Linked DNA regions of Homo sapiens: regions 2, 3, 4, 5, 6 and 7 are each linked to region 1. Evidence: promoter capture Hi-C in 16 types of primary human blood cells and fetal thymus (Javierre and others, 2016). All regions are on one chromosome and are shown on one strand. The core of a region is centred on a gene start or on the middle of the fragment in contact, and the rest is flanking DNA. Distances in the headings are between cores, read along the strand shown. Region 1 holds the start of LINC00852 (long intergenic non-protein coding RNA 852). Region 2 holds the start of IL17RC (interleukin 17 receptor C). Region 3 holds the start of CRELD1 (CRELD disulfide isomerase 1). Region 4 overlaps CIDEC (cell death inducing DFFA like effector c). Region 5 holds the start of PRRT3 (proline rich transmembrane protein 3). Region 6 holds the start of JAGN1 (jagunal vesicle mediated transporter 1). Region 7 holds the start of RPUSD3 (RNA pseudouridine synthase D3).

Region 1 (3,283 bases), core at 257-2,756:
AGCATTCTTACTCAACCTCTTGCTTTCCAGAGGCCCCAGCCGACAAGTGATCGCCCACAAGCCTTACTCACCTCTCTCTAAGTTTAGAAGCGCTCATCTGGCTTTTCGCTTGCTTCTGCAGCAACTCCCACGACTGTTGTACAAGCTCAGGAGGCGAATAAATGTTCAAACTGTATGCTGATGTTCCAAATGGGAATTTATTTCAAAGAGGAAAAGTTAATATTTTACTTTAAAAAAATCAAAATAATACAAATAAAAATAATTCTTGGTTTATGGTCTGTGGGAAGGGAATAAAAGGACAAGTAGCAAGGCCAATGTGCATGTTTAGAAAACCTAATCACACCAGCTCACTCAAGCAGAGAAGCTACTGCATGTGCATGCATTGTGTGGAATTAAGACTGGGTTTCTTAGAGAAGGAGGAGAGAAAGGGGGAGAGTAGGAGGGAGAGGGGAAAAGGAGGAGGGAGAGGAAGAGAAAGAAGAGATAAAGTGGGACTAAGAGAAAGAGGGAAGAGAGGAAGAACAAAGACACAGTTCCTTTAAACATCAGGGCTTCCTGAGTGCAAGGCTGCATTAACAGCTTATTAACAACCAGCCAGGGCTGTGTGGACAAAGAAACTTCAGGATGACATTATCGAAGCCAACATCCATTCAAGATTGGAGAGGAAGACAGGAATGCCCAAGAGTGAATCTGAAGTTAGACGTTAAGTGAGGTGCCCAATCACGGCTCTTGGGCACTGCTAGACAGCACTGAAAGAGCTGCATTCTCCTTCCTCCCTTCTCCACTACTGAGAAGGCCTGACAAAGCAAATGCCTCACATGGGCAAGGCTGGCCGTCGCCATGGTTCCCTTACTGATACCAGGTGGGATCCCCAAACATTCCCTCAACTCCAGTTCACAGCAGACACGAGCCTTGACTCTTATGTTCCACAACTTAATTCCAGTTACGACACTGGTCTTCCCGGGGGAAGGCCACTCGGTCATGCCCACCTTAGCCTAAACATGTGGACTGACTTGACTGTAGGCAACGGATGGGACACATCGCTAAGGGGAGGGAAAGGCAAAGAACGAGGTGGCCCCAAAGAGCAGCACCACAGACTTGCCAATTCAGCCATCTGAGCGCTTGTGGGAAACATGCAGGAAGCCGTCTGCAGAGACAGTTGGGGTAATGCCCACACTCTGGAAAACCCCTACCACAGAGGGTGCTAGGAGCCGAGCGTCTCCCCAAGTAAAATTCTGGCCGCCACACATGCAGGCACTAACTACTGATCAGGTGCGGCAGGCAGACAGAAACCCAACTGCTCTCCCTCACATAGAAGCTGTGGTCTGTGAATGCCACCGTCATCCAGGGACTCTTAGAAATGTAGAATCTTGGGCAGCACCCCAGCCCTAATCTATCAGGATCTGCATTTTAACAAGATCCCCAGGCTACTTAGTAAACGGCTGATGGGAAATGGCTTAGAATCCCCTTCCCAGGCGTCACAGCACACTGCAGGCCCCCTACTCACCCCTCCACCCTCAGACAGCCATGCCCCTACCTCCCCAGGCACCTGGCACAAGTGGGTACAGAGATCAACACACTTGTCCTGGAACTTAACTGTCTCAGCTCTGTCACTTAGTTGGGATACGACCTTGATTATCACTAACTGCCCACAGCCCTCTTATCAATAGCTACAGAAGAGGAGCAAAGGCCCAATATGGCCAAAGTGGTCAGGAGATGGTTTCTTTTTGAGAAAGCACCACTGATTGGGCTTGGGAGAGGATGGGTACCAGGCTCTGGACAAATGCTGGTCACCTGATGCTTCCCCCACCAAAGACAAGAACTTACTTCTCTCTCAAAGAAATCACAAGCATTATTAACCGCCTGCCTGGGTCATTCAAATAGAAACAGATATTGCGCACCCACTATGGGCTGGGCACTCTCACCTGTGCCAGGCAACAAGGTGTAGTGCAAAGATCTGGGCTTTGGCCTCGGACCTGAATTTGGATACCAGCTCTGTGATCCAGGCCAAGACTGAATTTCTCAGGCTCCTCACATGTAAAATGCCTACCTTGCTGGGTTACTGCCAAGACTGAACATGAGGTCTCACATGAGCTGTAGCTGGCAAAGGGCCCGGCACGTAGCTAAGCATTCAATTACTACAGCAGCCAGCACTCACTGTCACACCCCTGATGTACACCAGGCACCGTGTTAAATGCTCATGCAGATTAATGTGATTTCACTTCATTTTCACAGCAAGCCTACTTATGAGGGAGAAAACTAAAGCTCAGAGAAATTAAGTAACTTTCCTAAAGCACACAGCAAGCACGTGGCCGACTCACAGCCAACGCCACAGGACTCAGGGGCTGCTTTTTCATCCGGTTCCACAGCCTCTCAGCCAGTGCAGCTTCCCTCGCTCTACTGCCTAGGATGAGAGAGGTTTCCATATTCATTCATTTTCCTTCAGAATACACTGGGTGAACTTGGTAGAGGGGTGAGGACAATTTCAAGTCAACAATGGGCAGAAATATAATTTATCAAAGAAAATGGTTGGAGGACACCCTTGAGAAAATGTATTATTTCAAACATGTTCCTGTATCAGCTTTCTTAAACCCACTCCTTTATGGATCGTTTAATGATACCACTGTAACTTGAGGGTCTCTAAAGTGGGGTGTATGTACCCCTAGGGTGAGCGAGCTATTTGCTGGAGAAAAAAATTCTCCTTGTGAAAAAACTTTTACTTTGTGTATAATTAGCATAAGAGCACACGTATTTAAGTTCTCATGCACTTATAGTTGTGTGTTCAGAAATCATCTTGAGAGAGTGCACAGAAAAGGGTTGAGACGCCTCAACTAAGCTACCCACCTTAATCTGAATCCACCTACAAATGTCACTGGCATTTGGGGGGCCGAGGCAGGTGGATCACCTGAGATGAGGAGTATAAGGCCAAACAGGCCAACATGGCAAAATCTCATCTCTACTTAAAATTTAAAAAAAAAAAAATTAGCCAGTCATGGTATTGGGCGCCTGTAGTCCCAGCTACTCAGAAGGCTGAGGCACGAGAATCACTTGAACCTGGGAGGTGGAGGTTGCAGTGAGCTGAGATCAGGCCACTGCATTCCAGCCTGGGCGACAGAGTGACACTCAGTCTCAAAAAAAAAAAAAAAAAAAAAAACCAAAACCAAAAAAAAATGTCACTGGCAAATGAGCACTTTTTAATACAGTGATCCTGAGAGGGACTGGCTGGCCACTAATCACCATCTTTGACAGAGTTTGCTTCTTTAATCACTGTACATTCCGGTGG
Region 2 (3,363 bases), core at 864-3,363, 370 kb after region 1:
CCACAATGGCAAACCACTACATATGCAGAAAAATTATGACAATTACAACACTTATGCTTGTTTTGGCACCACATATACTACAACTGGAACAATACAGAAAAGATTAGCAAGGCCCGTGCCTGAGGATGACATGCAAATTCATGGAGGGTCCCATATATTTAAAATTCAAATATATTTAATTTAAAAATAAAATAAAATTACACCATCAAGTGTTGGCAAAGATGGGAAGCAACTAGGACTCCCATACACTGCTGGTAGGAGGGGAAAATAGTAGAAGCACCCTGAAAAACGCTTGGTGATTTCTCGCAGTCAAGCATATGAAGTAGAACTATTCTCATCCCCATTTTACAGACATAAAAGCTGAGGCATAACAGGCTGAAGGGACTTGCCCACAGCGCTGATCAGAATCAAAAGAATAGTCCCACCTCACATGGCTGTTGTGAGAATTAAATAAGTTGATACCTGTAAAACACTGGCTGTAATGCCTGGTACTGAAGGGTTTCAATAAATTTAATTCTTTTGTAATCCTCAAAGAGATAATGCATGTGAAAAAGTTTTATAGATTTTAGGTTTAGAAGGTGATTATTATTATTTTGCATACCACAGACTGACCAAACTGCACAAGGGCAGCAGGCACTTGCACCTCCAGCAGGACGCAGCGGGCAGTAGGGTAGGCCTGGAAGGAGAGCACGACTTGGGCCTGGAGAGAGGCTGTGGGCAACAGGGCAGGGGTCAGTCAGGCCCAGGAGCGGCAGGCCAGGCCTTGGCATGGGGCAGTTGGGCCAGCCAGGTTCTCCTCACCATTCCTAGGCTCCTCCACCCCTGAGTCAGCTGCTCCTCCAAACTTTTCCTCATCTTCAGGCTCTTCCCAGTGCCCTAGAAGGACCCAAGAGCAAGGCCCTGGGTGAGGCCCCCTGCTCTGGGCTGGCTGGCTTTGGCGTTGGCTTCCTTCTGGAAAGCCCAGTGCTGGGAAGCAGGGGCTGGGGAGACCACACTGGCCTGGGGGTCCTTCTGCTGGTGTCCTCCAGGAGAACACTGAGGATGCCTAGCACTGCTTGAGAGATCCCCTGGCCCTCATGCCCACCCCAGACACACTCACGTGTACACATGCACTGTCACAGGATGACTTGCTCACCATGCACGGCCAAGTGGACAGCCACACGCAGACAGAGGTCACAGTCGGTCTCCTTCTGGCACCTCAGCACCAGCTCTGTCTGCAGGTGCGTAGGCGCCAGCACGGGGCCCGGAGCAGGCACGATGTCCCCAGGCAGGCAGAGTATGTCACTGTCTGTGTGTGGAGGAGCGGGTGGGAGCTGAAGCTGTTCCAAGCCCAGAATTTGGTGGCACCTGACATACCCAGAGAGCCAAAGAACTTGGCTGTCCTAGGCTGAGGTGGGCATGGAGGGCATGGGCCTGGGACAGCTCTGCTCCCTTCGGCCAACCTGGGAAATTCTTTTTAAAAGTAGGGATACTTACCCCAGAGGCGGCAGGAGAGGCCCTGGGAAGGAAAGAAAGGAGAGTCAGAATTTGTGCCCCCACCATCTAGGCACTGTTCTCTGCCTAAGACCTCCACCTACCTTTTTCTGGGGCTCCGTATTCCCAGACCCTCCCAGAGAAAGACAGACCCAGCTCTTGCCCCTTCCCCGTTCTTCTCTTCTACCATCAGCACCAGACAGACCAGACAGGGCAGTTCTGGCAGTGGCAGCAGTGACAGGAGCCAGGCTAAGGCTTTGCTGAGCCAAAAACTGAACCCTGAGCCTTTCCTCGTCTCCCCAGGGTTCCAGACTCACCGGAGAGCAGTGGGTAGCGTCCTGAGGCCCCACAAGCCTCTCCAGAGAAAGGACCACTGGGCTTCGGCCCAGTGCCAAGGACAGCAAGAACCAGGGCACAGGCATCTTCTAGGTGCCAGGTGGCACCCAGGCCTGAGGCCCTGTGCTGCCCCCCCCCAAGGGGGGCAGACACCCCAGTCAGCCCGTGTCTGTGGGTGGCAGGGGCTGGAATCCCTCTTCAGCCTCCAGAGGGGGCGGAGGGGGCTGTGCTGGGTAGTTTGTGCACTCTCTGTCCTGGGAGTCCTGACTCTCCTCCTACTTCCAGCACGGAGTGCTTTCGTTTTGGCTCCCGGCAGGCTGCTGGCTGTTCCCGCCCCTCTCTGTCCCTCCCACCAACACCAGGCTTGGGAGCCAGCAGCCTTGGACTAGGGTGGTGGCCGCACCTCCTCCTTCTTTGGCTCTCCTCTCCCTCTGCTGACACCTGGCTGGGAGGGGCCCCTGAAGAAGACAGCGAATGCATCACGGCTGAGTAAGGGAGCTCTTACTCACCCCCGGAGCCCTAAGGAGGACACAGCCCTGGAGTCCTGGGCCCACTAAGTCTCCCCTTACTAGGCACACTCGGTCCCTTCAGACACTCTTTGGGCCTCGGTAACCCTTTGTGGGACAGGAGCTCTAAAAGCACGGACAAAAGGCACCAGAAAGTGGGCTTTTCACCACTGCCTGGCTCAAATGCGGTATGGGGAGTAGAAGGAACCCAGGACCCCAGAGCCTGGCAGACAGGGGTCCCATCTGTGCTGTTGCTGTGGGCCGGCTGTGTGATGATGGACACACCATCTGGCGAAGCCTCTGTTTTCCTCTCCTCTTGTAAGAATCACTGGGGGGGATCAAGGAGATTGCCCCATCCTCCTTTGCTTTTGGAGGCATTGCTTGTAAGAATGTGACGGATGCCATGCGGTATGGACACAGAGGATTTGGGCCAGCACACTGACACATACCCCACCAGGCAGGCTCCCCAGCCACACTAGAGAAGCACACTGTGTTTTCTTAGTTTGTCATGTTTGTCTTTATTCATCTTTCCGGATCTTGGTCCCCACCGCCAGCACCCACCCACCCCACCCCCAACCCCCACTGTCCTGACCACCTGGAGCCAAAAGCCTCTTTTCCTAGGTCCAGAGTCCTCTCTCCCTCTGGCCAGAGCCTCAGAGTGGGAAAGGGAATCCCTGGCCCCCAAGGAGGTTTTCTCTCAGCCGCCCCCTGCAATCCCCCACCGCCTCACCCTCCTTCAGAACTGACATGGCTCCTGCCTCCCTACCCCGGCCCCAACCTCTCCAGCCTGGACTGAAGCATAAGCACACTGCTCTTTCTGGAGTTCTGGAGAGGAAGTGGGAAGACCGCCCTCCCCCATCAGAACAGGGGTTAGAGGAGCTCTCAGTCAAGGGAAAGTATGAGGAGGAAGAGGGACGCGCGCGGGGACTGGGCTGGGACTTCCGGCCTGTGAGGCAGGGAATGCGGCTTTTCGGCCAGTCGTCCTCGAGGCACCCCAAGGATTTCAGGGTCGAAGGCTCATTCCGGGGTTCCAGCCAGTGTCCGTTGC
Region 3 (3,534 bases), core at 1-2,500, 350 kb after region 1:
TCCAGGAAGGGGGCATTTTGCTTGCCTTGTTTACTGCTATACTATAGATGTTCAGTGCTATTTGTTGAATGAATAAGTGCTCCCCAAGAGTTCCTAGCCCTACACCAGCAGAGCAGAGATTTGGCGGGGAGGGGAATATACACCCCTTCCCCCAGCAGCCCCTTACCTGTCTTTGTATTTGGACAAATTCTCTTCCTCCCAGGCAGTGTTTCCACCTCCAAAGTTGTCCCGGATGGTTCTCTCCAGGCCCTGGAAACAGAAAATTAGTAATAGCTAAGTACAGTGCCTGGCACATGCTAGCACTTCACTGTTCTACTGACTAGGAAACTGAGGCACAGAAAGGCAACCTGCCTAGGGCCATACAACTAGTAAGAGACCAAGATGAAACTTAAATCCACGCAGATTTGCATCCCAGAGTTCCCCACTCTAAATCGCTGTGTTCCCCTCTAACGAGGCTGCCGGTGCACCCACCTTGTTAAAGCTGTCAACCAGTCCCCGGCAGGTATGACACGGATGGGGCTGAGGCGGGGGAGAAGACTGGGGAGGTGGAGAGGGCTGGAGCCAGATAGGTCCTGGGAGGTTGAGGAAGAGGCTGAGGCCCCAGAGCATAGCTGGGACTAGGCCCTTCGGGGGCCATGGGGCCATCTTTACCCAGGCTGGGGACCTGCAGATAGAGGGCGTGGAGAGGCTTCACTGAAGGAGTCAGGCCCCACGCGAGAAAGAAAAAGGTCTGTTCTAAGGTGCCGTGGCGCTGGGATCTGCGTTATTACAAGCAAAAGAGGCCAAACTGGGTATTGCAGGGGCTGTGGGGATGGGTGGGGAAAGGCGCATAAGATGCAATTCCAGAAGAGAAATAAGTTATCCTCGCTAGCATGGGGTGGAGAGGAAAGTGGCCTCGCTCCTTGACAAGGGGGCAGAAGTCAGCCTCTTGTCTGAGGGTCTGATAAAGAATATTAGGGGCCGGATCCGCAGAATTAGGGAGAAGAGATCAGATTCCAAGTACTGAAGGAGAGGAGGCCAGAGGGGTTGTCTTGGGGGAGGTGTCCGGAACCCCGGGCTTGGAGGGAGGAGCCCGGATCCGGATATGAAGGGAAGGGATCAGATTCAGGGCCTCGCAGAAGGGCAAAGGCACGGCCCACGAGCCGGCAGAGAAGGATCCAGACCCTCGTAGGCCACGGAGAAGGAAGAAGCGACCGCCCCAGCCCGCGGGCGCCGTGGGCCGTCTCCTCACCGCGTCGCTGCCACAGCCTGCGTAAAACGCACAACCCCCACCCGCGCCGCAGTCCAGGGGGCGGAGCTTGCCGCCCAGCCAATGGCGACGGGCCATGTGCCATTACGTCACCCCACGCCAGCCAACCAGAGGCGGCACCGAGCTGCACCTGTCCGGGCTTTAAAGGGCCGCGGGGCTAGGGAATGACGTTTGCCAGCCCCGCCACTGAAACGGAGACGCGTGTGGGCCACATGGGTAGAAAAACAGCGTCTGCCTTTATTTAAGTCCCGTCCCCCGCCCCAGGTCCCGCGCCTGGTCCCACCCCGCGTCCCGGCGCGGGAGTCCCCGGGGGATGGAAGTAGCTATCCAGGGCTGGCTGAAGGGCCCGGGACACTTGCTCCGCTCTCTCTTGGAGCCGCCCGGAACGCGGGGCGCGAGGCTGCTGCAGGGCCCCCAGGAAGTCTGGCAGTTGGGAGGGCAGTGTGAAGACGGGCACGGTGCGGAAAAGGGCGGGTACGGCGTCCGGGTGGAGCAGCCTGTCGAAGCAGGCCCCCACGTAGCTGCCGGGCGCCCGGCCCTGCAAGAAGTCGGGCAGCACGCAGCTGAGCGAGGCGCGGAAGGCGTCGTGCGGGCCGTGCGCCCCGGGCCCGGACACCCCATCCTGTAGCCACTCGCTGCACAGCGCCACCGCACCGGGAGAGAAGAGCAAGACCACCACGCCGCCCTCCTGCAGGGTCTGGCGCCGCTGCGCGTGAAACCAAGCCACGGGCCCCTGCGCGCTCAGTTCACGACGGCTCCACAGGTCTACGGCCACGCGCAGCGGCAGCTGGCACAGGGCCGACGCCAGGGCGCCCACCAGGCGCTCGAAACCCGAGTCATCGGCTGAGTAGAGGAGCAGAGCCGCGCGGCCCCTGGCGGCCGCTGCCGGAGAAAACAGATGGGGAGGGAAGAGGTGAGCTGGCACAGGCCTGGCTCCCCGGGGGCGGCCCTCCGCCCAGCGCTTGCTCCCACTCACCCCCCGAGCGGACGTCCTGTTTCAAGAGCCTCAGCCACCCTGTTAGGGGAGAGGGGCGGAGGCAGCCAGTGAGCTCGGCCGCCGCTTTCCCTCGGAGAACTCCCACAGCCACTCTGGTCCTCCCCCAGGGGAATGGGGAGCCGGGAAGCGCTCACCTTTCGCGTGATCCTTTTTGAGAAGGAGGATGAGGGAAAGCGCAGCGGCAAAGAGTAGGCAGGCCAGCCACACGAGGGCCCAGCGCTTGTGGATGTCTGGGAGACCCAGAGAAGAAGAGTTAGAAACTTACCCTCCACAGAGAAGAAAAACTGAGACTTAACAGAAATGAATTGGGCCGGGTGCGGTGGCTCATGCCTTTATATAATCCCAGCACTTCGGGAGGCCGAGGCGGGCAGATCACGAGGTCAGGACATCAAGACCATCCTGGCTAACACGGTGAAACCCCGTCTCTACTAAAAATACAAAAAATTAGCCGGGCGTGGTGGCACACGCCTGTAATCCCAGCTACTCGGGAGGCTGAGGCAAGAGAATCGCTTGAACTCGGGAGGCAGAGGTTGCAGTGAGCCGAGATCGCGCCATTGCACTCCAGCCTGGGCGACAGGGTGAGACTCCTCTCAAAACAAAACAAAACAAAACAAAAAACGAAGAAATGATTTGCCCAGAGTCCACAGCACAGTGTCAGAGCCAGTGGATGAATATAGCTCCATCTGTTTAGGGGTCTTTGAATAAGTAATGTCACCCTCTGCCTCAGTTTTCTCCTCTGTAAAGTTGTACCTGTGTCATAGGGTTGGTGTGAGGACTAAATATATTAATACATATAAAGCTTAACACAATGTGTTAATACATACTTAACACAATGCCGAGCATCTTAAGTGCTAAAATGTCAGCTGTTTTTCTCCCCTAAGCTAGGGTTGCTGGGCCCTTGATCTTGCTGTCCTGGGTGTCTGCAACTACCTGGTGTCCCTGCCCTGTCTTTTTTTTTTTTTTTTTACCTCCAATTGATTTGCCTTGAATTGATTCATGACAGCCTCAGAGATCTTTTAAAAATATAAATTTGGGCCAGGTGCGGTGACTCACGACTATAATCCCAGCACTTTGGGAGGCCGACGCGGGCGGATCACGAGGTCAGGAGTTCAAGACCAGCCTGGCCAAGATGGTGAAACCCCATCTCTACTAAAAATACAAAAATTAGCAGGGCATGGTGGCAGGCGCCTATTAATCCCAGCTACCCGGGAGGCTGAGGTAGAGAATTGCTTGAACCCGGGAGGCAGAGGTTGCAGTTAGCCGAGATCGCGCCATTGCACTCCAGCCT
Region 4 (3,378 bases), core at 221-2,720, 410 kb after region 1:
ACTTCGGGAGGTGGAGGCAGGCGGATCGCTTGAGCCCAGGAGTTCAAGACCAGCCTGGGTAACATGGCAAAACCTTACTTCTACAAAAAAATACAAAAATTAGCTGGGAACGGTGGCACATGCCTGTAGTCCCAGCTACTTGGGAGACTGAGGTGGGAGGATCACTTGAGCCTAGGAGGGTGACACTGCAGTGAGTCATGATGGCACCACTGCACTCCAGCCTGGGTGAGAGAGCAAGACCCTGTTTCAAAAAAAAAAGGCTCAGCATCATTAATCATTAGGGGAATGCAAATTAAAATCACTTCATCCACCAAAAAGTGGATATATGGCTGGGTGTTGTGCCTCACGTCTGTAATCCAAGCACTTTAGGAGGCCGAGGCGGGAGGACTGCCTGAGCATCCAGGAGTTCGAGAACAGCCTTGGCAACATGGTGAGATCCTATCTCTATTAAAAAAACAAAAAACAAAACAAAACCAAAAACAAAACAAACAAACGAAAAAAAGATTTTTGGGCCTGGTGCAGTGGCTCATGCCTATAATCCCTGCACTTTGGGAGGCCGAGGCAGGCGGATCAACTGAGGTCGGGAGTTTGAGACCAGCCTGACCAACATAGAGAAACCTTGTATCTACTACAAGTATAAAATTAGCTGGGTGTGGTGGCACATGTCTGTAATCCCAGCCACTCAGGAAGGCTGAGGCAGGAGAATCGCTTGAACCCAGGAGGTGGGGATTGCGGTGAGTCGAGATCATGCCACTGCACTCCAGCCTGGGAAACAAGAGCAAAACTCAGTCTCAAAAAAAGAAAAAAAAATAAGGATTTTTGGCTAAAATACAGACAATGAAAGCATCAGTGAGGATGTAAGGAGACTGGAGTTCTCATACGTTGCTAGTGGGGATGTAAAATGATGCAGCCACTGTGGAAAACAGTTTGGCACCTCCTCAAAGTTAAACATAGGCCCATTGTGGTGGCTCATGCTTGTAATCCCAGCATTTTGGGAGGCTGAGCAGGGAGGATTACTTGAGCCCAGGAGTTTGAGACCAGCCTGGGAAACAAAGCAGCACCCTGTCTCCACCAAAAAAAAAAAAAAAAAAAAATTAGCTGGGCAACATGGCACAAACCTGTAATCTCAGCTACTTGGGAGGCTAAAGTAGAAGGATCACTTGAGCCCAGGAGGTTGAGGCTGCAGTGAGCTGTGATTATACCACTGCATTCCAACCTGGTTAAAGAGCAAGGCCTTCTCCCCAGAAAAAAAAAAAAAAAAAAAAATTAAACATAGAGTTAATGTATGACTCAGCAATTCTACTCCTAGGTATATATGCCCAGGAAAATTGAAAACATATGTTCATATAAAAACTTGTACACAAAAACTCATAGCAGCATTATTCATAATAGTCAAGAATAAACAATCCAAGCGTTCATCCACTGATAAATAGATTTTAAAATCTGTTATATCTATATAGTAGAATATTATTTAGCCAAAAAAAAAAAAGAATGAATTATGTCCGGACGTGATAGCACATGCCTGTAATTCCAGCACTTTGGGAGGCCAAGGTAGAAGGATCCCTTGAGGCAAGGAGTTTGAGACCAGTCTGAGCAACATAGCCAGACACCATCTTTAAAAAAACATAAACATTAGGCAGGTAGTAATGGCATGCAACTGTAGTCCCAGCTACTCGGGAGGCTGAGGCAGGAGGATTGCTTGTGCCCAAGAGTTGGAGGCTGCAATGAGCTACAATTATGTCATGTGCTCTCTACTTATGCTTATGATATGCTTATGATTACTGCATTCCAGCCTAGTAGTCACTGCACTATTAGGTAGTGGTGATTGTTGCACAACTTTGCGAATATACTAAAAAACCCTGAATTGTACACTTTTAGAGGGTAACTTTTAGAGTATGTAAACTGTATCACAATTAAAAATTATATGTGACTTACATTATATTTTATTGGACAATATTATTCTAGACTAGGAACCCTGAAGCCAGGAGCCAAGAGGTACCATGATAAAGTCTCTGGGTAGTGATTCCACAGCAGAGGGCCTGGGCTCCAGTTCCACCTCATAGAGTCCAGCCCACTTGTTCTGGGATGGCAGAAGCATCACTGACCTTATTCCCCAGGTCCGGGACACTCTGATGCTGGCAGACAAGCCCTTCTTCCTGGTGCTGGAGGAAGATGGCACAACTGTAGAGACAGAAGAGTACTTCCAAGCCCTGGCAGGGGATACAGTGTTCATGGTCCTCCAGAAGGGGCAGAAATGGCAGCCCCCATCAGAACAGGTGAGGTCCCACCTGTTGCACCTGATGGGGGAGAAAATCGGGACTCTGGGAGATGTCTTCAAGGGGTGCTAACCATTTGCTTGTCTCAATGCAGGGGACAAGGCACCCACTGTCCCTCTCCCATAAGCCTGCCAAGAAGATTGATGTGGCCCGTGTAACGTTTGATCTGTACAAGCTGAACCCACAGGACTTCATTGGCTGCCTGAACGTGAAGGCGACTTTTTATGATACATACTCCCTTTCCTATGATCTGCACTGCTGTGGGGCCAAGCGCATCATGAAGTGAGCAAATTGGGATTTCCTGGGGACAGGGTGGGTACAGGCAATGGGAGAGCCCCTATCTGTCCACATGGACTCAGCCTTCTCAGCGCCTGGGTCTGGCTTTGGTGCTGACAAAGCATAGCCTGTATCAGACAACACGGAGCCTGATGGGCTCTCGAAGTGCTGTGGACGACACCGGCGTGTGCCCAGGGGTGCACGTGTTCCTCCTGGTGGAACCTGGATGCATTTTATTTTTATGACTACTTTCCACTCTAGTAACTACATTTTTTCATTGAAATAGGAAGTTTTCCTAAGTAGTCTTCTAGTCAATTTTATAAAAATGAACATGTGTTGGCCAGGCACGGTGGCTCATGCCTGTAATCCCAGCACTTTGAGAGGCCAAGGTGGGTGGATCACTTGAGGTCAGGAGTTTGAGACCAGCCTGGCCAACATGGCAAAACCTAATCTCTACAAAAATATGAAAACTAGCTGGACATCGTGGTGCATGCCTGTAATCCCAACTACTCAGGAGGCTGAAGCAGGAGAATCGCTTGAAGCTAGGAGGCAGAGGTTGCAGTGAGCCAAGATTCTGCCACTGCACTCCAGCCTGGGCAAAAGAGCAAGACTGTCTCGGAAAAAAAAACAAAAAAAAGCACGTGTCAAAGACTTAATTGAATTCATTAATTAATGAGAGAACTAGCAAGAAGTTACAATCAGCTCAAAGGAGATTTCAAAATCCCACATATATACAGGTCCAGGAAGAATGATGAGATAGGTTGAGTGCAGCAGCTCTCACCTGGGATCCCAGCACTTTGGGAGGTCAAGGCAGGAGGATCTGTTG
Region 5 (3,239 bases), core at 274-2,773, 330 kb after region 1:
GTGGATACAAGAAATGATATAGATCTATAGATATTTACATGAAAAATGTGCCAGAATATATTGGAAAGTGAAAAAGACAAATTACAGAAATGTGTACAGTGGCTGGGCACGGTGGCTGACGCCTGTAATCCCAACACTTTGGGGGTCCGAGGCGGGCTGATCACCTGAGGTCAGGAGTTCGAGACCACCCTGGCCAACATGGTGAAACCCTGTCTCCACTAAAAATATAAAAATTAGCCAGGCATGGTTACTAGGGAGGCTGAGGCAGGAGAACCACTTGAACCTGGGAGGCGGAGGTTGCAGTGAGCCGAGATCACGCCACTGCACTCCAGCCTGGGCGACAGAGCAAGACTGTCTCAAAAAAAAAAAAAAAAAGTATACAGTATGATGTCATTTCTATTTAAGATGTACATGTAACTGTACATTGAGAAGAATCTGAAGGATACATACCAAGCTGTAGGTAGGATTTACCTAAAAGGATGTAGGGATATAGAAAGGAAGTGAGCTCCCCGTCCCATGAGGTATGCAAGCAGAGGCTAGCTGCCCCGTTTTCAGGGATGCTGCAGAAGACATTTCCACATCCCTCAGAGATGACCTCGGTTCCACTCTGAGCCCTGACAATCCCTGAGCGAGGGGAAGTCAGGGTTGACAGAAGAGTCCACCCCTAAGGGGAAAGAGTTAAGCAGGGCTGCGCTCCTGTGGGCGGGCTCGCGATCGGCAGCGCCGGGCTCTGTTAGCCGAGTCTGAGCATCTCGGAGGATGCGGCGCGGCGATCGGCTGCAGGGACGCGCGCAAGGTGAACACGGGGGCTGCGGCGCGCAGGTGAGGAGCTGGCCCAGGGAGGGGGCGATGGCGGGACCCCGACGGGGAGCGTGGCCTGCTGCCCCCGTCGCGGGCGCAGGCGACCAGGCCTGCACGGCGCCCACCCCCATCCAGGACACTGCGGGAAGGCGCGGAGCCAGGGAGAGAGGAGACGGAGGAGGAGGAGGAGGAGGAGGAGAGGTAACCCGAGATGGACCAGCTCCGAGGCTGCCCCGCAACGGCCTCGCCCTGCCCCCAGGCCGGCCTCTCCCCAGTCCCTGCGGCAGAGAGATCCGCCACCCCCCACAGCCTCTCCAGCAGAGTGGGAGCCCAGGGCTGGGCAAGCCCCCGCCTTGTCCGCAGGTGCCCACATCTCTTGGGTTGGCAGTGGTAGGCAGATGGCATGTTTATCTTTGGAGGCCCCATTCAGCCGTTTTCTCGGCAAAGCTTTTTGGACCTCCTGTGGAAGATGAGCCTCCGAGGGTTTCACAACCCCGATTGTGTCCACTCAGCTGTGTGACCTTGGGGGAGTTGCTCACCCTCTCTGAACCCCCGTTTCTTCCCCCTGTGAAATGGCTGTTCCCACACCTTGTATTGGGAGGGCGGAGTGACGTGTTGCTAAGCTCAGCGCAGGAGCCTCACTGGGAAAGAACTAAACACAGGAGCACTGTTTTTAGCCAGTACCTGTGTTAGGGGCGTCTCAGCGCACCCCTACTCCCAACCCTGGAGCAAAGCCCTGTCTCTGGGCCCCCAGCACCTAGCCTAGACCAGGAGCAGCCCATGGGGCTCCGTGAATGTTTGAGAAATGAACTAACAAGGCTTTAAGACAGAGTCTAAACTCGAGTTTGGAGGATGGGACTCAAAGGTCTTTGAACCCCTTGAAATTGTTCACAACTTTCGGTGAGCCTGGGTCTTTTCCCCGGGAGAGCACCAGGGGTTTTCAGTGGCTTCTTAAGGTGTCTGTGAGCCACCATGGGTTAACAGCCAGGAAGCTTTGGGGACAGCTGCTCCCCAGAGAGGAAAAGAGCAGGGCCTCTGCCGCCAAACACACCCAGGCTTCAGCTCTCGCACCCTCCATGAAACCTCTCCTGGTGGTGGGGCCCCTTCCTGCCTCCCTGGCCCACTGACAGGCTCTCGAGAACAGGAACTTTTAGGGGATATCCACGTGGGGCCAGGTATATACTGGAGGCTGCAGGTTTGAAATAAGAGGCAGGAGATTATTATAGAATCAGACCAGAGTGACAAGTGCCCAGGAAGATGAGGGAAGGAAGGCGGGAAGAGGAATGTGTAACGCTTGTCAAGCATCAGGTATGAACCTCGCCCATACCTGTTTGGTTATTTGTCTCATGCCTTGAGTTAGGCATGCTTATTATCCCCATTTTACTGATGGGAAAACTATGATGCAGAGAGGTGAAATGACTCCCCCAGGAAATGAAGACACTGGGATTCAAACTCAGGCCCCTCGCCAAAGGCCGGTGCATATTCCTCTCCCTCTCCACGTCTCTCATTTTTGAAGTGGGCCTTTAGGAATAACATTTCAGGCAGGGTGCAGTGGCTCATGCCTGTAATCCCAGCACTTTAGGAGGCCAAGATGGGCAGATTACCTGAGGTCAGGAGTTCAAGACTAGCCTTGCCAACATGGCAAAACCCCATCTCTATTAAAAATATAAAAATTAGCCAGGTGTGGTGGCACATGTCTGTAACCCCAGCTACTCGGGAGGCTGAGGCAGGAGAATCACTTGAACCTGGGAGGTGGAGGTTGCAGTGAGCCGAGATCACGCCACTGCACTCCAGCCTGAGCGACAGAGCAAGACTCCGTCTCAAAAAGAACAGGATTTCAGTAAGTGAAGGGGAAGGGAGAGAGCATTCCCTGCTGACAGAACAGCAGAAGCAAAAGGCATGGGAGCCACACAGTCCAGTGGGTGTTGGAGGACAGATGAACAGCTTGTGGTGGCCAGGGTCTTGGAAGGCCAGGAGAGGAGCTTATGTTCTTTCTTGAGGGAAATGGGGAGCCACTGAAGGTTTTAAAGCAGGGCAAGTGCCACGTCCAGCAATTTTAAAAGCAGAGAAGCTGCTGCCTTGCGTTGCTTTTCTTTCCTGTCAGCCCCTTGAGGAAGGCATGGGGGCCCCCAGCCCTCACATGTCATTCCATGCCCTGTTTTTTTTTTAGGCTCATCCAGTGAGGACTGGAAGGTGGGGGCTTTAGGCCCAGGCATCGGAGTAGACCATGGCCTCCAGCCCATGGGGCTGTGTATGTGGCCTTCTGCTGTTGCTGCTGCCACTCCTGGGGACTGGCCCTGCCCTGGGGAGGGGCTTTCCCAGGCCACTTGAAAACTCCGAAATCCCTATGATCCCTGGAGCCCACCCCAAGGGCTCTGTGGGCTCAGAGCCCCAGGCCTTTGACGTGTTCCCGGAGAACCCCAGAGCTGACAGTCACA
Region 6 (3,782 bases), core at 1,122-3,621, 390 kb after region 1:
ACCAGCAGCAGCCATATGACCAGATGTACGTAGATCAGCTTCTTGATTTCATACTTGAGAGTCACACTGTGGGGCAGAGCAGAGGGAGAAGTATCTTTCAAATTTTTCTTACCACCAACTATATGCCAGACAACTGTACTGGACACTGGGATACAAATTTGAATAAAACAGCCTAGAAGCCGGACACAAAGAACAGAGGAGGAAAAAGTAATTAGAAAATGAAGTGAAAAAGTTCTAGTAAATATATGTTCCCAGATATATGGGATCACAGGAAGGAGGAATCAACTCTGCCTGGCATGGAATGTCAGAGATGGCTATCTAGAGGCAGGTGATATCTGAACTAGGCTCAGGAATGAGTGAAGATGGGCATCCCATGCAGGAGCATGCAGACAAAAAGGCCCAAGTATTTGTGTTCCAGGAAAGCAAGTGGTTATGTGTGGCAGGAACATATTGTTAGGGGGAGAGGGGTAGTGGGATATGAATCACAAAGACTATGAGAGTTAAAAGTAGAAGAGGCTGGGCTCACAACTCTAATCCAAGCACTTTGGTAGGCTGAAGCAGGAGGACTGCTTGAGCCCAGGAGTTCGAGACCAGCCTGGCAACAAAATGAGACCCCATCTCCATAAAAAAAAAAAACAACAACAATACTACTAATAAAAAGGCAGGGCTGGGCGCGGTGGCTCACGCCTGTAATCCCAGCACTTTGGGAGGCCGAGGCGGGCAGATCACGAGGTCAGGAGATCGAGACCATCCTGGCTGACACGGTGAAACCCTGTCTCTACTAAAAATACAAAAAAATTAGCAGCACGTGGTGGCGGGCGCCTGTAGTCCCAGCTACTCGGGAGGCTGAGGCTGAGAATGGCGTGAACCCGGGAGGCGGAGCTTACAAGTGAGCTGAGATCGCGCCACTGCACTCCAGCCTGGGCGACAGACCGTGACTCCGTCTCAAAAATAAATAAATAAATTAATAATAATAATAAAGGCAGAAGGGTAGCTCAGAGCTGTGTTTAGCAAGAGGACGCTGACTGCACCATAGGATTAAAGTCTGGCGGGAGAAGGTATTGGCAGAGAGGAAACGTACTCAGGCCGCCCATACTTCTCCAGCTAGATTTTTTCATCCAAAAGAAGTACATACTTATCTTATTCTTCTAATTCTCTCACGTCCCAAACGTATCCTCCTCATATCCCTAAAGGCAATGTTTCTACTCTGGGCTGGCATGAAAACACCTGCTTAAGTTGTGAGGGCCCTTTCAGCCGGGGCCTAGAGATGTGAAACAAATGAGAGTTCAAAGAGCTTGTCATTCTTTAAAACTCTGGAGAGAGAGATGTGAAGAACATTCTGGGAGAGATCAATGGATTTAAGGAAGTAAAAATTTTAAAATTTTTATTTAAAAATATTTATTGTAGAAAATGTGGAAAGGTTGGAAAAAAAAAACAGTCATCTCTAGACTTCAAGCTCCATGAAGGCAGGGAACAGTTTTTTTTTTCTTTAATAAAATTGTTTATTGAAGGTATAACATGTATACAAAGACCACGTCTGCTTTTGCTCACTATTATAACCTAGTGTCTAGCAGTGTATGATGTTTGGAAGCTCAGTATTTGTCGAACTAGTAATTGAATGTAGAAATACCCCTTACGTGGGAGTGTTTATAAAATTCATTTTAGGCAAGGCGTCCTTAGGAAAGGCTGCCTTTTACTGTCTATATCCCCCCAAACGGCCCAAAATATAACACCTACCATATATTACGTGGTAGGCCTTATGCTACTTTCTTTACACGAATTACTGATTAATCTTTCACCAAAACCTAAAAGGCAGATTATTCTCTCCCTCTACAGATGAGGAAGCTGAGGCTCAAATTAGAAATTCGGTTTCGAAGGTGATACAGCGGGGCCAGCATCGACGTGACTCGGGAGCCCACGCAGGGCGGGAGCCCACGCGGGGCTGGATCCCCTCAAGGCACCGGGCGGAACAAGGGGTGGAGCTCGCGGGGGCCACGGGGCTTTCCAGGATGGGGGACAGGCCCGAAGCCGTCACGGGAGGAGGGGACTTGGCAGGTGAGCGGGGGCTGGCTGGGGAGCAAGACCCTGAGGCCGGGCCGGCGTCGCTCCCCAAGCCCCGCAGGCTCCAGCGGGGGAGAAAGCCTCCGTGCTCCTCGCCTCACTTCATACCTCATCTGGTAGTGCATGGCGACGCGCTCCCGGTGCTGAAAGTCGCTGCCGTCGGTGCCGGCCGCTCGCGGGCCTGCTCGAGACGCCATTGTGCCTGCCCAGAACCCCCGAACCCCTCACGCGGACCTGGTACCGCAACGACACCGCCAAGCGGCCCACTGACCCTATTTGCGCCCCCGCAGCCGCGCGGCTCCGTGAAGAGAACTTCCGGCCCCTCTGTCTCTGGAGGACCGACTCTATGGTCACTCCTCTCCGCGCAGGCGCCCTCGTTCCCTCTCGCCCCCGCCCCGCCCAGCCCCGCCTCTTGTGGAGCGCGCAGGAAATTAATCCCCAGCCTCTTTTGCTGGCGCCCAGAGGCCGCTTGAACACTTTTACTTTCTTAAGCTGTAATATCAGTTAGGATACTTCTGTCCACACTTTACAGAGGGGGAAACTGATATATTCTATGACTTTCCCTGGAGCACACATCATTCACACAGCCTCACACCTTTAATCCCAGCACTTTGGGAGGCCGAGGTGGGTGGATCACTTGATGTCAGGAGTTCAAGACCAGCCTGGGCAACATGGTGAAATCCCGTCTCTACTAAAAATACAAAAATTAGCCAGGTGTGGTGGGTTCCTGTGACCCCAGCTACTTGGGTGGCTGAGGCAGGAGAATCGCTTGAACCAGGGAGGCAGAGGTTGCAGTAAGTCGAGATTGTGCCAATGCACTCCAGCCTGGGGGACAGAGTGCAGAGTGAGACTTTGTCTCAAAATAAGTTTCTCACATTTAATTATTGCAAAGAGAAACAGGGAATCTCTCAGTGAGGAAATCTGGCTTGTCTCCCTTAAACATATAGTCAGTTAATTTGATCAATAATGAGATAAACTGATATCTTGTGCCTCTTTTAATAGACTGAGGACACAGCATCACTTCTATGATGTTTCTGCCAAAAATACCTAACTGAATCTAATCATGAAGAAATGACATAAATCCAGACGGAGGGACAGTCTAGAAGAGAGCTGGACTGTACTCTTCAAAAATGTCAAGGCCATGAAAGAAAAATTATTTCCAAATAAACTTTATCTGTAGAGACAAAGTAGAATGACCATTGCCAGAAGCTCGAGGGGTGGACAGAGAATGGGGAGCTAGTGTTTAATGGGTACAGAGCTTCAGTTCGGGAAGATGAAAAAAGTTCTGGAGATGGATGGTGGTACTGATTGCACAACTATATGTGTGTGCTTAATGCCACGGAAACTGTACACTTAAAAATGATTAACATAGTAAGTTTTATGTTATGTGCATTTTACCACAACAAAATACTAAGCGAAACTTTAAAGAAAGAAGTTATATTATCCGAATAAAGAAAAAAAGAAAGAAAAAAGCATGTATAGTGAGCATCTTCCATGCACCAGGATGCTCTGCTATGACCTGGGGACGCAGAAATAAACATGGTCCATTTCCCCTGAGGGATCCCAGCCCAGTCGGGGGAAGAACTTGTACCCATGAAGCTAAGAAATTCAAGAAAACACAGGAGGCTGAGGGAGGAAAAATGAGGCCTCTCTCCCTGACCTGGAGGGTTAGGAAAGTCTCTCTGGAGTGGCAGCAATTGAGCTGAGGTCTGAAGCCTGAG
Region 7 (3,596 bases), core at 806-3,305, 440 kb after region 1:
TTGGGAGGCTGAGGCAGGTGGATCACCTGAGGTCGGGAGTTTGAGACCAGCCTGGTCAACATGGTGAAACCCCATCTCTACTAAAAAATACAAAAAATTAGGCAGGTATGATGGTGCATGCCTGTAGTATCAGCTACTTGGGAGGCTGGGGCAGGAGAATTGCTTGAACCCAGGAGGCAGAGGTTGCAGTGAGCCAAGATCGTGCCACTGAACTCCAGCCCGGGTGACAGAGTGAGACTCCATCTCGAAGGAAAAAAAAAAAGAAGTGTCTGTCAAAGGCCCCGTGCGGCCTTTAATCCCAGCACTCTGGGAGGCCGAAGTAGGTGGGTGAATCCCTTAAACCCAGGAGTTTGATTTTTTAAAAATTATTTTGTTATTTTTATTTTCTTATCTTGAGCCCAGGAGTTTGAGACCAGCCTGGGCAACATCGTGAGACCCCATATCTTTAAAAAAAAAAAAAAAAAAAAAAAAAGCTAGGTATGGTGGTGCACACCTGTAGTCCCAGCTATTCAGGAGACTGAAGTGGGAGGATCGTTTGAGCCTGGGAGGTTGAGGCTGCAGTGAGCTGTGATTGTGCCACTGCACTCCAGCCTGGATGACAGAGCAAGCAAAAAAACACATTAGTGGCCGGGCACAGTGGCTCACGTCTGTAATCCTAGCACTTTGGGAGGCCAAGGCGGGCGGATTGCCTGAGCTCAGGAGTTCGAGACCAGCCTGGGCGACATGGTGAAACCCCGTCACTAAAATACAAAAAATTAGCCGGGTGTGGTGGCGGGCACCGCACCTGTAATTCCAGCTACTCAGGAGGCAAAGGCAGGGGAATCGCTTGAACCCGGGAGGTGGAAGTTGCAGTGAGTCGAGATCGGGCCACTGCACTCTAGCCTGGGTGACAGAGCGAGACTCTGTCTCCAAAAAACAAAAACCAAAACACATTAGGAAAATGTTCACACCAAACTCAAAGTGGAGACTGGGGAGGGAGTGAAAACTGGAAGCACGCAGTAAAGGGGAATTTACTTTTATCCCTTTCATTTCTTAAACAAGAAAAACAGGAAACCTATACATATATATATTGTTTCACAATGACTAATTCTGATGGTAGGAATGTGGGCAGTCATTATATTATTCTTTTTTTTCTGTGTTCTTCTACTTTCTTTTTCTTTTTTCTTTTTTTTTTTTTTTTGAGACGGAGTCTCGCTCGTCGCCCAGGCTGGAGTGCAGTGGCACGATCTCGGCTCACTGCAAACTCCGCCTCCCGGGTTCACGCCATTCTCCTGCCTCAGCCTCCCGAGTAGCTGGGACTACAGGCGCCCGCCACCACGCCCGGCTAATTTTTTTGTATTTTTGGTGGAGACGTGGTTTCACCGTGTTAGCCAGGATGGTCTCGATCTCCTGACTTCGAGGGGCCACAGGACTAGTAGAGCCAAGAGTTGAGGGTCCGGGTGGGGTGATCCGGCCGTCAGAAATGCAAAAGCCTGGAAAGACATCTCCAAAGGCCAATCTCAGGTTGGACAATCGTGAGCTGGGGAAGCTGCAAACACTGTGACCTCCGGAATAACCGCTGGTAATCAGTTACCTCTAACCCTTAGCAGAATTCAGGTCCCTCTACTACTCCTAACCTGGTGGCCTTTCATTAACTCTATGAAGCCAGTTTAGTTCGGGGGAAGGGCAATTATCATTTAGACTACGAACTAATTTCTCCCAAAGTTAGCTTGGCCCAAGCCCAGGAATGACCAAGGACCGTTTAGAGGTTAAAGGCAAGCTGCGGGTTGGTTAGATCAGATCTCTTTCGCTGTCATAATTTTGTAATATAATTTTTGCAAAGGCGGCTTCAGGTTTTTTGCTAAGACAGGTTTTTTGATCAGATCAAATTCTTCTGCTACAGCGCTCTCCCTAAAAGCATAGGAAGGCATTTCTGCATTTCCTTCCTGGGCGGAGGAAAAGCCCCGCCTCCTCAGGCTCTGAGTCCCGCCCGGTCACCATTCCGATTGACACTCCAGCTGACCAATCAGCGCGCTGGCTGGAGCGCGGGTCTGCCCCTCTGGACGCACATGCGCGCTGTCCTGGCTCGGGAGATGGACGGCCGCCGTGTTTTGGGCCGGTTCTGGAGTGGCTGGCGGCGGGGCCTGGGTGTCCGCCCAGTGCCCGAGGACGCAGGCTTTGGCACCGAAGCCCGGTGATTAAGTACCCCCTCTCTCATGCGGGACGGAGGCTAGGGCAGGGGGAAGGCACGTGCGGGATCTGGATCAGGTAGATGTTACCCGAAAACAGCCCCGTTGGCCTCTCTGAGCCTCGGTGCCCTCCGCTGTAGAATGGGACCGGTCGTACCTGAATTTTCGAGGTCAGCCCAGACATTGTGAGGCATTTGTCAGAGGCCGCAGGATTTGGGAAGAGGCGTCCGGAGATAGGAATGGGTGGCACCTCGGGATGGAATGACTCCCATTGCTTCTCCCTCCTTGTCCAGGCATCAGAGGCAACCCCGCGGCTCCTGCCAACGGTCGGGGCCCCTCGGGGACCAGCCCTTCGCGGGGCTGCTGCCAAAAAACCTCAGTCGGGAGGAGCTGGTTGATGCGCTGCGGGCAGCCGTGGTGGACCGGAAAGGTGAGGGGTGAGAGGCACGGCCGCACAAGGACCGGGAGGGGACTGCCTCGGCGTGCAGTTGGGCTCTCCATTGAAGCCACGGGATCAGCCCTGCTTCTGCCTCCCACTAGCAGCATGAGCTGGGACAAGCCACCTAATTTGCACCCTCTCCCCGCTTTTAACCCTACTGCCATGATGCAGTAGGGTTAAGAGTGGGGAGAAGATGCAAATAACTACCGAGCCTTGCACATAGCCGGCGCTCAGTTACGGGAGTTGCTATACTAGATTATTGTTTATTGGCCGCGGTGGCTCACGCCTGTAATCCCGGCACTTTAGGGTGCTGACGCGGGCGGATCACCTGAGGTCAGGAGTTCGAGACTAGCCTGGCCAACATGGTGAAACCCCGTCTCTACTAAAAACACAAAAATTAGCCAGGTGTGGCGGCGTCCGCCTGTAATCCCAGCTACTCGGGAGGCTGAGGCAGGAGAGTCACTTGAACCCGGATAGCAGAGGTTGCAGTGAGCCGACATCGTGCTACTGCGCTCCAGCCTGGGATGACAGAGCAAGACTCAGTCTAAATAAATAAATAAATAAATAATGATTATTTATCGACGGACAAAACACAGGCTTTGGAGTCAGACATACCTAGGCTCTGTGATCAGCTTGCTGTGCGGCTTTAGGAAAATAACTGAATTTCTCTGAACCCCACTCTCTATTCAGTGATTTATTCCTTTTCTCAACTATTTCTTGAACATATGCTATGTTCCAGGCACTGTTCTAGGCAGGCTATACAGTGCTGAAAAAGATAGATATGGTTTCTGCTCTCAGGGGAGAAATGGATTTCTCTCTAACGGGAGAAATGGATGTCAGAAAATAAATGAACAAGTTACTAGTGGTAAGTGCTATGCATAAACTAAAACAGGGTGTTATGATGGTGAGGAACTGCAGGAGGAAGGCAGACATTAGATTGGAGATTCAGACCTCTCCGTGATGTGACATTTGAGCCAAGATGATAGGGA

The links. The method cuts DNA at HindIII sites, captures the fragments that hold promoters and counts their contacts. A CHiCAGO score of 5 or more calls a contact.
Region 2: a contact is called between the fragment with the promoter of IL17RC here and the fragment with the promoter of LINC00852 in region 1, in 2 of 17 cell types (total CD8 T cells and naive CD8 T cells). The highest score is 8.4, in total CD8 T cells.
Region 3: a contact is called between the fragment with the promoter of CRELD1 here and the fragment with the promoter of LINC00852 in region 1, in 11 of 17 cell types (activated CD4 T cells, naive CD4 T cells, non-activated CD4 T cells and 8 more). The highest score is 11.7, in activated CD4 T cells.
Region 4: a contact is called between a fragment that was not itself captured here and the fragment with the promoter of LINC00852 in region 1, in 1 of 17 cell types (non-activated CD4 T cells). The highest score is 5.0, in non-activated CD4 T cells.
Region 5: a fragment that was not itself captured here is called in contact with the fragment with the promoter of LINC00852 in region 1 in 2 of 17 cell types (naive CD4 T cells and endothelial precursors); the score reaches 6.9 in naive CD4 T cells.
Region 6: a contact is called between the fragment with the promoter of JAGN1 here and the fragment with the promoter of LINC00852 in region 1, in 3 of 17 cell types (total CD8 T cells, non-activated CD4 T cells and naive CD8 T cells). The highest score is 7.1, in total CD8 T cells.
Region 7: a contact is called between the fragment with the promoter of RPUSD3 here and the fragment with the promoter of LINC00852 in region 1, in 8 of 17 cell types (activated CD4 T cells, non-activated CD4 T cells, naive CD4 T cells and 5 more). The highest score is 9.9, in activated CD4 T cells.

What each region holds. Positions count from the first base shown.
Region 1 is chr3:10,282,642-10,285,924 of GRCh38, reverse strand. LINC00852 (long intergenic non-protein coding RNA 852) reads right to left here and starts at 1,506. Exons shown (of 1, transcript NR_026829.1): 1 at 179-1,506. GHRL (ghrelin and obestatin prepropeptide) reads left to right here. Exons shown (of 6, transcript NM_016362.5): 6 at 31-259. The coding sequence ends at 50. GHRLOS (ghrelin opposite strand/antisense RNA) reads right to left here. Exons shown (of 6, transcript NR_073568.1): 2 at 2,322-2,404; 3 at 72-177. The HindIII fragment of the contact is 4,911 bases long and covers 1-3,283 here.
Region 2 is chr3:9,915,848-9,919,210 of GRCh38, reverse strand. IL17RC (interleukin 17 receptor C) reads right to left here and starts at 2,113. Exons shown (of 19, transcript NM_153460.4): 1 at 1,791-2,113; 2 at 1,477-1,498; 3 at 1,136-1,288; 4 at 802-876; 5 at 602-711. The coding sequence starts at 1,895. It overlaps IL17RE (interleukin 17 receptor E), which reads right to left. Exons shown (of 16, transcript NM_153480.2): 16 at 2,814-3,363. It also overlaps the pseudogene RNU6-882P. RefSeq lists enhancers at 2,202-2,391, 2,321-2,860. The HindIII fragment of the contact is 19,830 bases long and covers 1-3,363 here.
Region 3 is chr3:9,931,550-9,935,083 of GRCh38, reverse strand. It overlaps CRELD1 (CRELD disulfide isomerase 1), which reads right to left and starts at 1,250. Exons shown (of 11, transcript NM_001077415.3): 1 at 1,164-1,250; 2 at 472-664; 3 at 167-249. The coding sequence starts at 645. It overlaps IL17RC (interleukin 17 receptor C), which reads right to left. Exons shown (of 19, transcript NM_153460.4): 17 at 2,381-2,476; 18 at 2,226-2,264; 19 at 1,463-2,131. The coding sequence ends at 1,491. RefSeq lists an enhancer at 839-1,208 and silencers at 1,309-1,638, 2,219-2,278. The HindIII fragment of the contact is 19,312 bases long and covers 1-3,047 here.
Region 4 is chr3:9,869,062-9,872,439 of GRCh38, reverse strand. CIDEC (cell death inducing DFFA like effector c) reads left to right here. Exons shown (of 7, transcript NM_001321142.2): 5 at 2,118-2,276; 6 at 2,371-2,558. Among named protein-coding and RNA genes, the nearest start is that of CIDEC, 9.5 kb to the left of the region's middle. The HindIII fragment of the contact is 7,361 bases long and covers 1-3,378 here.
Region 5 is chr3:9,949,905-9,953,143 of GRCh38, reverse strand. PRRT3 (proline rich transmembrane protein 3) reads left to right here and starts at 736. Exons shown (of 4, transcript NM_207351.5): 1 at 736-822; 2 at 2,972-3,239. The coding sequence starts at 3,029. All of the region lies in intron 3 of PRRT3-AS1 (PRRT3 antisense RNA 1), which reads right to left. RefSeq lists a silencer at 698-1,237. The HindIII fragment of the contact is 545 bases long and covers 1,251-1,795 here.
Region 6 is chr3:9,889,199-9,892,980 of GRCh38, reverse strand. It overlaps JAGN1 (jagunal vesicle mediated transporter 1), which reads right to left and starts at 2,371. Exons shown (of 2, transcript NM_032492.4): 1 at 2,170-2,371; 2 at 1-66. The coding sequence starts at 2,258. The HindIII fragment of the contact is 18,772 bases long and covers 1-3,782 here.
Region 7 is chr3:9,842,467-9,846,062 of GRCh38, reverse strand. RPUSD3 (RNA pseudouridine synthase D3) reads left to right here and starts at 2,055. Exons shown (of 9, transcript NM_173659.5): 1 at 2,055-2,173; 2 at 2,462-2,598. The coding sequence starts at 2,073. RefSeq lists an enhancer at 2,113-2,192. The HindIII fragment of the contact is 7,859 bases long and covers 1-3,596 here.